3 separate regions of the Homo sapiens genome follow, and all the other regions are linked to region 1. The links are contacts of gene promoters, found by promoter capture Hi-C in human tissues and cell types (Jung and others, 2019). All regions are on one chromosome and are shown on one strand. The core of a region is centred on a gene start or on the middle of the fragment in contact, and the rest is flanking DNA. Distances in the headings are between cores, read along the strand shown. Region 1 holds the start of ZFP37 (ZFP37 zinc finger protein). Region 2 has its middle 34 kb from the start of SLC46A2. Region 3 overlaps SNX30 (sorting nexin family member 30).

Region 1 (2,862 bases), core at 266-2,765:
TCTCTGCATGGCTGCCTCCTTGTGATGATTTATGCCTCAACCCAACTGTCATTTGCTAAGGAAAGCTTTCCATGACTAACCTGGCTAAAGTCATGCACTCCCTACCCTCAATCACTCTGTACCACACCATCCTCTTTTACTTACTTCAGCACTTATTAGTGTCTGGAATAATTTTATTTGTTTATATTTTATGATATCTTTCATATTTCTATAATGTAAGTCATTGAGGGAGGGATTCTGGTTTTGTTTCCTGGTGTGTCTCCAGCATTTAAAACATTCCCTGGTTTTGAGGACAAAGCAGGGACTGCAAAACAACAACACCAAACAAATAAAATAAAAAATACCCCCTGGCATAAAATAAATGCTCATCTTACAGACTGTTCCTACTGTTCCTGCAAGTTTTCAATCACTGACACCCAAATACTCCCCAATCACTAACCTTCACAAACTTCTCCCAATTATGGATCTCTGCAAGTTCCCAACTATCACTCTCCACAGAACAATCATTAACCTCCACAGATCTCCAATCACTGACCACCAAAGAACCCTCAATCATTAAATGCAGCAATCCCCTCAAACTCCTGACCCCCTTAGACTTCTAGTCACAGAATCATAGAGGATCTTCAATCATTAATTCCTACTAATCACCTCATTACTCAAAGCACAGTTATTACTGCTAGACACCACCTAATTATTGACCTGCATACATCCCCAATTACCTTTTCTCCCCAGATGACATACAAATCATCTACCATCCCCAGAGACACCTCAACATTGACTCCCCAAACTCCAACAGTCATATTCCCCCCTCACTGGCCCCCCGATTCCTCCATTACCCACTGACCCTCAAAGATACTGCTAATCAAACTTCCACAGACATCACCGTCACTGACTCCCAAGCCCCAATCTCTGATGCTCCCAGATGCTCCCAATCACTGAATTTCCCAAATCCTAACACTGACCCTCTTTGATAACCCAGGCTCTAACCACCACAGGCACCCATAATCGCTGGCTCCCATAGACATCCCAAACCGCCAACCCCCACGGTCCTTCCCTATCTCTGACACATCACAAAGCCTCCATTTCTGATCTCCTTCCAAACTCCGACACTCGGTGACTGCCACAGACGCCTCCCCATCATTGTCTCTGCAGATCCCTCCTAATACTGATATCCTAAAGCCAAATCATTAACCCCACAGATAACTCAGAACACCGACCTCCCAAAAGACCATCTAGCATCGATTCCACCAATTCCCAAATCACCTATCGTCACAGACTACTCCAATCACTGCCCCGCAAGTACACCATCTCTGACCGCCAAAACACCCTGTCTCATCACAGCTCTCACCGCGGCGCTGGCCTCGGGCTCGGACACAGCCATCTCCAGTGGTCGCCCGGCCTCTTTGGTCGTTTCCGCACTTCTCCTCCGGTCCACGGTCTCTGGCTTTGTCAGAATCTGGACGCCGCTGGAGACCGACATGGCGGCTACCCGGAGGGCGGCCTTAGCGGGTCCGGCAGCCGCGATGGCGGCGCCCTTCGGTAATAGCGCACGGGCGCGGCCATCTTGGCAAACACTCAGCCGTACAGCGGAAGTGCGGGGACTTCTGGGACAATTAGATCGGGAGGTGGAAGCTGGCGAGGGCGTTACTTGCAGGATGCAGGAGTGATGCGATCAGAGCCAGCCGGAACCGAGTTCCGTTACGCACTACAGGACTGACCTGGGCCTGACAACCCACTGCCGGAGTTCGGATCGCATCACTGCCGGAAGATATTTTACAGAATTTGGAATTGCTTTTCCGAATACATGTCAGTGCGGCCAGCGGCTAGAAGTCCGGGAATCACAACGCTTAGTGCGGACTTTAGAAAGGCAGGATGCGAGAAATTGGAAGCATAACGGAGAAAAGCCTGATCGAACAAATAACATTATTTTATAGGGAGAGGACGTTAATCTTTGAGATATACGATAAATCTTTTCATATATAGTATAAGAACAATAAGAAAAACTGAAACAGAAACTTAAGTAAACACACCACTCCTCCGTGAGAGCCCGGGTTTGGTGAAGATATTTCACCAGAATAATCAAGCACTTGGAGAAATAATTCCTTAATGCGCCATTTCATGCATTAATTGCATTCATTGAATATGTGCAGGTTAGGTGCTGCGCTATGCAAGGTACTGGAAAAAGAGTGGAGAGGGGTAGGGATGATGTAAGTCCAGAGTCCAAAGGCCAGAAAACCAGGGTCTCCAATGTCAAAAGGCAGAAGATGAATGTCCCAGCTCAAGAAAAAAGAAAAGGTGGGAGGGAAGTGGGGATACTTAACGGGTTTTTAAAAAAAAAGAAAAGAAAGAAGGAATAAGACCTAGTATTTGATAGCACTACAGGTGTATATATCCAATAATAATTTAGTTGTACATTTCGAAATAACAAAGTATAAATGGATTGTAACACAGAAGATAAATGCTTGAGGGGATAGATACCCCATTTTCCATGATGTGATTATTGCACTGTGCATGCCTGTATCAAACTACTTCATGTACCCCATAAATATACTCACCTACTATGTACCCACAAAAGTTAAAGATTAAAAAAAAATAGAAAAGAGGATTCACCCTTCCTTTTCCTTTTTGTCCTTTCAGGCCCTCAGTGGATTAGGTGGTGGCCACCCACATTGGTGGGGGCTTTTTTATTCAGTTTGCTAATTCAAATGCTAATCTTTTCCCAGAAACACACTAACAAACCCAGAAACAATGTTTCACCAGTTTTCTGGGCATCCTTTAGCCCAGTCAAGTTGACCGATAAAATTAACCATCACCCTAACCATGATATACACAGACTTCCAGGTTACAGAATCTGTGAGATAA
Region 2 (2,700 bases), core at 164-2,663, 130 kb before region 1:
AAAATAAGCTTAAAAACTAGGAAAATGAATTTTGGTAAGTAAGATCCCCTTTAGAAAAAACAGGGAAGAAACTGAAAAACTGTAGACTATTTCACATTTTTTGTTACCAAAAAATGAGGTGAGTCAAGCCCCTAGTTGGAATCTGGCCAAGTTGAGTTGAGGGCTGGGTGAAGGTTGAGCTGTTAGCGCACCAGCATCAGCTGCTCTGGAAATGTGGACACAAATCACAAGAATCATGATTTAATGTTTCTGTTTTAATCAGGAGAAAACACATACAAAGGAAGCAAATAATCACTAGAGGCCTAGCAAGTGGTTGACCACCCTGTCTTGGAAAGAAGGGCTGGGATGAGGTTTGGGGGTCTGGAGCTGAAGGACAGACTTTGAGTCTTATGTCAAATGATTGTTCTATAGTTTGTAACTTGCAAACTTCTGGGTTACATGCAAACCTCTTGTATTGTCCATTAACTTGGGTCATGGTTAAGATAGATTATCAATAAATATGTATGGGTTCAAAAAAATTAAGTTGTCCTATTGTATCTAGCTTATTTCATTTAACATAATGTTTTCAAGGTCTGTCCATGTTGAGTATGGTCAGAACTTTACTCCTTTTTAGGGCTGAATCCATTTCATTGTGTGCTTGTACCTCATTTTATTTATCCATTCATCTGTTCATGGACACTTGGGTTGTTTCCACATTTTGGCTGCTGTGAACAATGCTGTAATGAACATGAGTGGACCAATATTTGTATGATTTCCTGTTTTAACTCTTTGGGGTGTATACCCTGGAGTAGAATTTCTGGGTTGTGCAGAAATTCTATGTTGGGGCTTTTGGGGGAATTGCCAAATTGTTTTTCACCTCGACTTCACCATTGTACATTCACAGCAGCAATGTGCAAGAGTTTCACTTTCTCTGTATCCTCACCAACACTTGTTATTTTCTATTTTTTCCCTTCTGAGGTTTGCTGACTTAGAAGGTGTGAATTCATATTATTTTTTAGGTTAAATAAAAATCATGTTTCAGAATAAGATATAGTGGTGTATCCTACCAGAGATGATGTATTACTAGAGATTAAGTTTGTAGGTCCTCTTCCCCCACCAATCTTCTGTTACAATGAACCAATCATTCCACTCCTTGTATTTATTAGAGGTAGCTTCTGAAGAAGCTCCCTAAGAAAGAGTAGGTCCCTTAGAAAAATTACTTAGGGTATCCTTCCTTAGAAGGTAAGACAGGGGTTCCCCTGGAGTCCCTGAGTGTAGCCTCCTTTTGGGGAGGGGGACAAGTGAGTAGCCCCATTGTCTGGGGAAAGGGAAAACAGTCTGGCTCTGTTTTGAGGGCTTAAAGGAAAAAGTGGAGTGGGTTTCCGGGAAGGAATGGAGACAATTGTTTTGTTTGTGAGGTGATGGCCACTGGAACCAGATCTGATTCCCTGCTCTTCTGGGGCCCATGGAAACCTGGAGATTGCCTGCGATCAGGGGAAGGAAGGGAGGGTGACCATTCAGAACTATACCCTTAGGAGCACTGTGTTACTGTTGCAATCAGCTCTTCTCAATCTTTTCCAAATTATGGGACGACTGTAATAATCTTATAGATGGAGATATTAAATCAAAGAGAAGTTGACCATTTTTAAACCTTGGAGAGGCTGCTTCTGGCTGAAGTTACTGGGAGAAGCAATGAAAGAAAAGACAACTTACACTTCTTCACTTCATCTACCAAAATATGCAGTTCTATTTTCGTTTATAGAAACTTCAGGTGATAGATCAGTGATCAACAGTGCCCTGGGAACAGTGCTCCCACGTTTTTCTACACCCCTGACTTTTGCTTCTATGATACTGACTTTTTAAAGAGACAATTATCTTTTTAAACACCCCACCTTCTGGATTTGTTTGATAATTTTCTCACAGTGTTTTTTAACCTGTTTCTGTATCCCTTGAATTTCCTCTAAATTGGAGACTAGGGCTAAAGGCTTAAGTTCAAGTTTACATTTTTAGCAAGAATGTGTCGTAGGCGATGCGGTGGGAGTCATTTTGTATCACATAAGGAGACACAATGTCAGATTGCCCCACTATTGATGATGCTTAATCATTTGATTTGGATGGTGACCGCCAGATGTCACCATTGTAAAGCATGTTTTCCCTTCTGCCATATCGAGTGACCTGTGTAATCTCTTGAAAAATATTCGTGTCGACAAATCCTGTTTAGAATTTTCAAGTACCCGCTGCCCTCCACAACACTTTAATGAATTTGAGACTGTCTTTGTCATCTTGATACACAGTGCTCTGTAATTTATCCTTAAGTGGCTCAAACATGTCAAAATAAAAACTCACAGGATTATGCTAGACACCTAACTTCACAGTGCTCACACCACAGGGAAGGACCACCTTAGTCACTGTGAGAATTCACCATAATGGGCTGGTTGTTATTTTCCCCAGGAAGGGAGGGAAAATGGCTGCCATTGTAAACTGAGGAGCATAGAAATAAGACCAGCTTTGAGGAGGAACGGTGTTTTCTTCTTCTTTTTAAAGATATTTACATGTCAGCGGGTTTTACTTCTTGGAGGTAAATCACTTTCTAAATTTCTCCTTGGACTGTTCATTATAAAGTTGCTGTTTAATCTTCCTGGAACATAACCTTCAATTTTAAAGAATGCAAAGCTTTGTATTATTTGTTTAGTGAATCTATAGCGGTGCTTCCCAGCTTCC
Region 3 (2,809 bases), core at 274-2,773, 220 kb before region 1:
CACCCCGTCCTTTGTCCTGCTGTGTCAGCCTTGTGTTTGCTTTTCCCATGGCCAGCACTGCTGATTCGCCAGGTGTTTCCTCTTTTATGCTCTCTTAACTTTAGCTTTAAAAGTGGAGACATAGACTCAACTGCCCTTCATCCATAGGGAACAATAATTTAGTAAACAAACTTAGATACCTTTTCTGGCAGAAAGATGGTTCAGAAAGATAGCATGGAGACCTGTGTTTGCCAAAGTTATGACCCTGATGAATCTTCAGACTTGTAATTGACTCACCCACCCCACCGTGGTTCATTTTAAACCCACTCCTGCATGGGGGAGTTGCCAGGGCCTGTATTGATCCTTCCTCGTTTTTGCCTCCACTTCCTTCCCACCCCTCTCGGGGCCACCTGCTTTGCCACATCCCATAATGTTGGGATCTTTTATCTCCTTACATATGCATGGGGCGGACAGACGTGAGCAGTGTAAATGATCGCACTGGCATGGGAAGCACGTTGAGGATTCCCCAGCAGTTGCCATTCATCGGTCACTAAGCCATGATGACTGTGTTCTGTTGCAACAATGGCAAGACTCTTGGTGACAAATGATGGGCCAGATTTTCTTTACGGGGGAAAAAAATCAACATTTTTTTTTTCTCATTTCTTGTACTTGTTCCCTCTACTTGACCCACTGATGATACCATGTGGGGCCCATAGGTTTTGGAGATAGCTGTGGATACCATCCACACCTAAGGATCTTGCAGAGTAAATTCTGATGGGATCCAAGGGGCTGAGGTGGCCACCGAGTGATAGAGTGAGTCTGCCAGTGTAAGACCACATCTCTTGTATCAAAATGTTTCCTAAAATTCCATTGTTTATCCATTGTGACTGTTTTTGTTTTTCGTTTTTTGGTTTTTGGTTTTTTTTTTGAGACAGAGTCTTGCTCTGTCGCCCAGGCTGGAGTGCAGTGGCACCATCTCGGCTCACTGCAAGCGCCGCCTCCCGGGTTCACGCCATTCTCCTGCCTCAGCCTCCTGAGTAGCTGGGACTACAGGTGCCCGCCACCACGCCTGGCTAATTTTTTGTATTTTTAGTAGAGATTGGGTTTCACCATGTTAGTCAGGATGGTCTCGATCTCCTGACCCCATGATCCACCCACCTCGGCCTCCCAAAGTGCTGGGATTACAGGTGTGAGCCACCGTGCCTGGCCCCTGATTTTATTTTTTAACCTTTAAAAACATCTCCCTAAACCTATATGAAACTCTGCCTCCATTGCCTGTTAAAATACTGCTTCACACTATGGGTAGGCGAGTGGTTCTTTTCTTTTTTTTTTTTTTTTTTTTTTTGACGGAGTCTCGCTTTGTTGCCCAGGCTAGAGTGCAGTGGAGTGATCTTGGCTCACTGCAACCTCTGCCTCCTGGGTTCAAGCAATTCTCCTGCCTCAGCCTCCTGAGTAGTTGGGACTATAGGCGCCTGCCACCACACCCGGCTAATTTTTTTGTATTTTTAGTAGAAACGGGGTTTCACTGTGTTAGCAGGATGGTCTCGATCTCCTGACCTTGTGATCCACCCACCTTGGCCTCCTAAAGTGCTGGGATTACAGGTATGAGCCACCACCAGGCCAGCGAGTGGTTATTTTCGAAGATGTTTGGTGGATGTGGCTGCTACTGCTTTTCCCCATAAGGCCCATTATCCAGAGGGATGGCATTCCCATCACGGGATGGAATGGATTGATGTAACATGAGCTGTCAGAGGTTTTTAAGCAGTTGTGCTAGAAACAGTGTTGTGTTTAAAGAAGAGTGGGATCAGGTGAGTGAATGGCCAAAGAAACACATGTTCATGTAGAGAGCTCTTGGCTGTGGTGATTACTGAGTCAGTAATAGCAGCAACTGCTACCCAGCCAGATTTTAATTAGTTTCTGTTCCCTGTTCAGAGTACCTTGTGGAGCTGAGAGAATACGGGCCTGTGTACTCCACATGGAGCGCCTTGGAGGGTGAGCTGGCTGAACCCCTGGAGGGTGTGTCAGCTTGCATTGGGAACTGCTCTACAGCCTTAGAAGAGCTGACAGATGACATGACAGAAGACTTCCTACCTGTGCTCAGGGAATATATTTTATACTCTGACTCCATGAAGGTAAGCTGGCTTGCTTCTTGTGTATTTGCATACTTTCTTTGTAATAGCAGTTATCAGAAAGTAATGGATTATTGCCTGTTTGCATGTGATATAAGTTTCCTTCTTCCTGGGTGGGCAGGATCAGACACGTGGACTGACATCATGGACATATAAATGGAACACATGGTGAACGAAGTACGTGAATTAAACAAAAAAAAAAGTTTGGTAAGAAATTCTTACTGGTTTCTCTGAGAGTTCAAGAAGATATAATGCCTATGAAATAAGAACAAAGATGCCATGGAAAAGTAATAATTAGAGCTCTTGGAAGTTAAAACATGATTGCTGAAATAAAACTGAATAATCAAGTTGGAAGGTGAAATTGAAGAAATCTTAAAGTAAGACAAAACAAAAGTTGCTGGAAAATAGAACAAAAATGCAAAAGTACTGAAAATATGAAAGAAAAGAGACATAGGGAATTAATCCCAAAGGTTCAGCATCCGACTGATAAGAGTTCCTGAGAGAACAGGGAAGACTGAGGGAAGGAAATTGTAAAAGAAATAATACAAGAAAGTCCCCCAAAGCTGAAGACATAAATCGTCTGATTAAAAGGACATGATAATTGCCCAGCAAAAGGATTGAAAAGATCACCAGCCCAAAGCATATTATTGTGGAATTTTAGAACAAAAGTGATACGAATTTGAAAGCTTTTTAAAGCAGAG

Evidence for each region. The method cuts DNA at HindIII sites, captures the fragments that hold promoters and counts their contacts. A contact is called where the count stands out against the background at its distance.
Region 2: a contact is called between a fragment that was not itself captured here and the fragment with the promoter of ZFP37 in region 1, in 6 of the 25 tissues and cell types used here (IMR-90 fibroblasts, lymphoblastoid cells, mesenchymal stem cells and 3 more).
Region 3: a contact is called between a fragment that was not itself captured here and the fragment with the promoter of ZFP37 in region 1, in 1 of the 25 tissues and cell types used here (IMR-90 fibroblasts).

What each region holds. Positions count from the first base shown.
Region 1 is chr9:113,055,209-113,058,070 of GRCh38, forward strand. It overlaps ZFP37 (ZFP37 zinc finger protein), which reads right to left and starts at 1,516. Exons shown (of 4, transcript NM_003408.3): 1 at 1,349-1,516. The coding sequence starts at 1,480. RefSeq lists an enhancer at 1,147-1,716. The HindIII fragment of the contact is 44,168 bases long and covers 1-2,862 here.
Region 2 is chr9:112,923,149-112,925,848 of GRCh38, forward strand. No RefSeq gene overlaps it. Among named protein-coding and RNA genes, the nearest start is that of SLC46A2, 34 kb to the left of the region's middle. The HindIII fragment of the contact is 4,076 bases long and covers 1-2,700 here.
Region 3 is chr9:112,836,587-112,839,395 of GRCh38, forward strand. SNX30 (sorting nexin family member 30) reads left to right here. Exons shown (of 9, transcript NM_001012994.2): 6 at 1,912-2,111. Among named protein-coding and RNA genes, the nearest start is that of SLC46A2, 53 kb to the right of the region's middle. The HindIII fragment of the contact is 6,299 bases long and covers 1-2,809 here.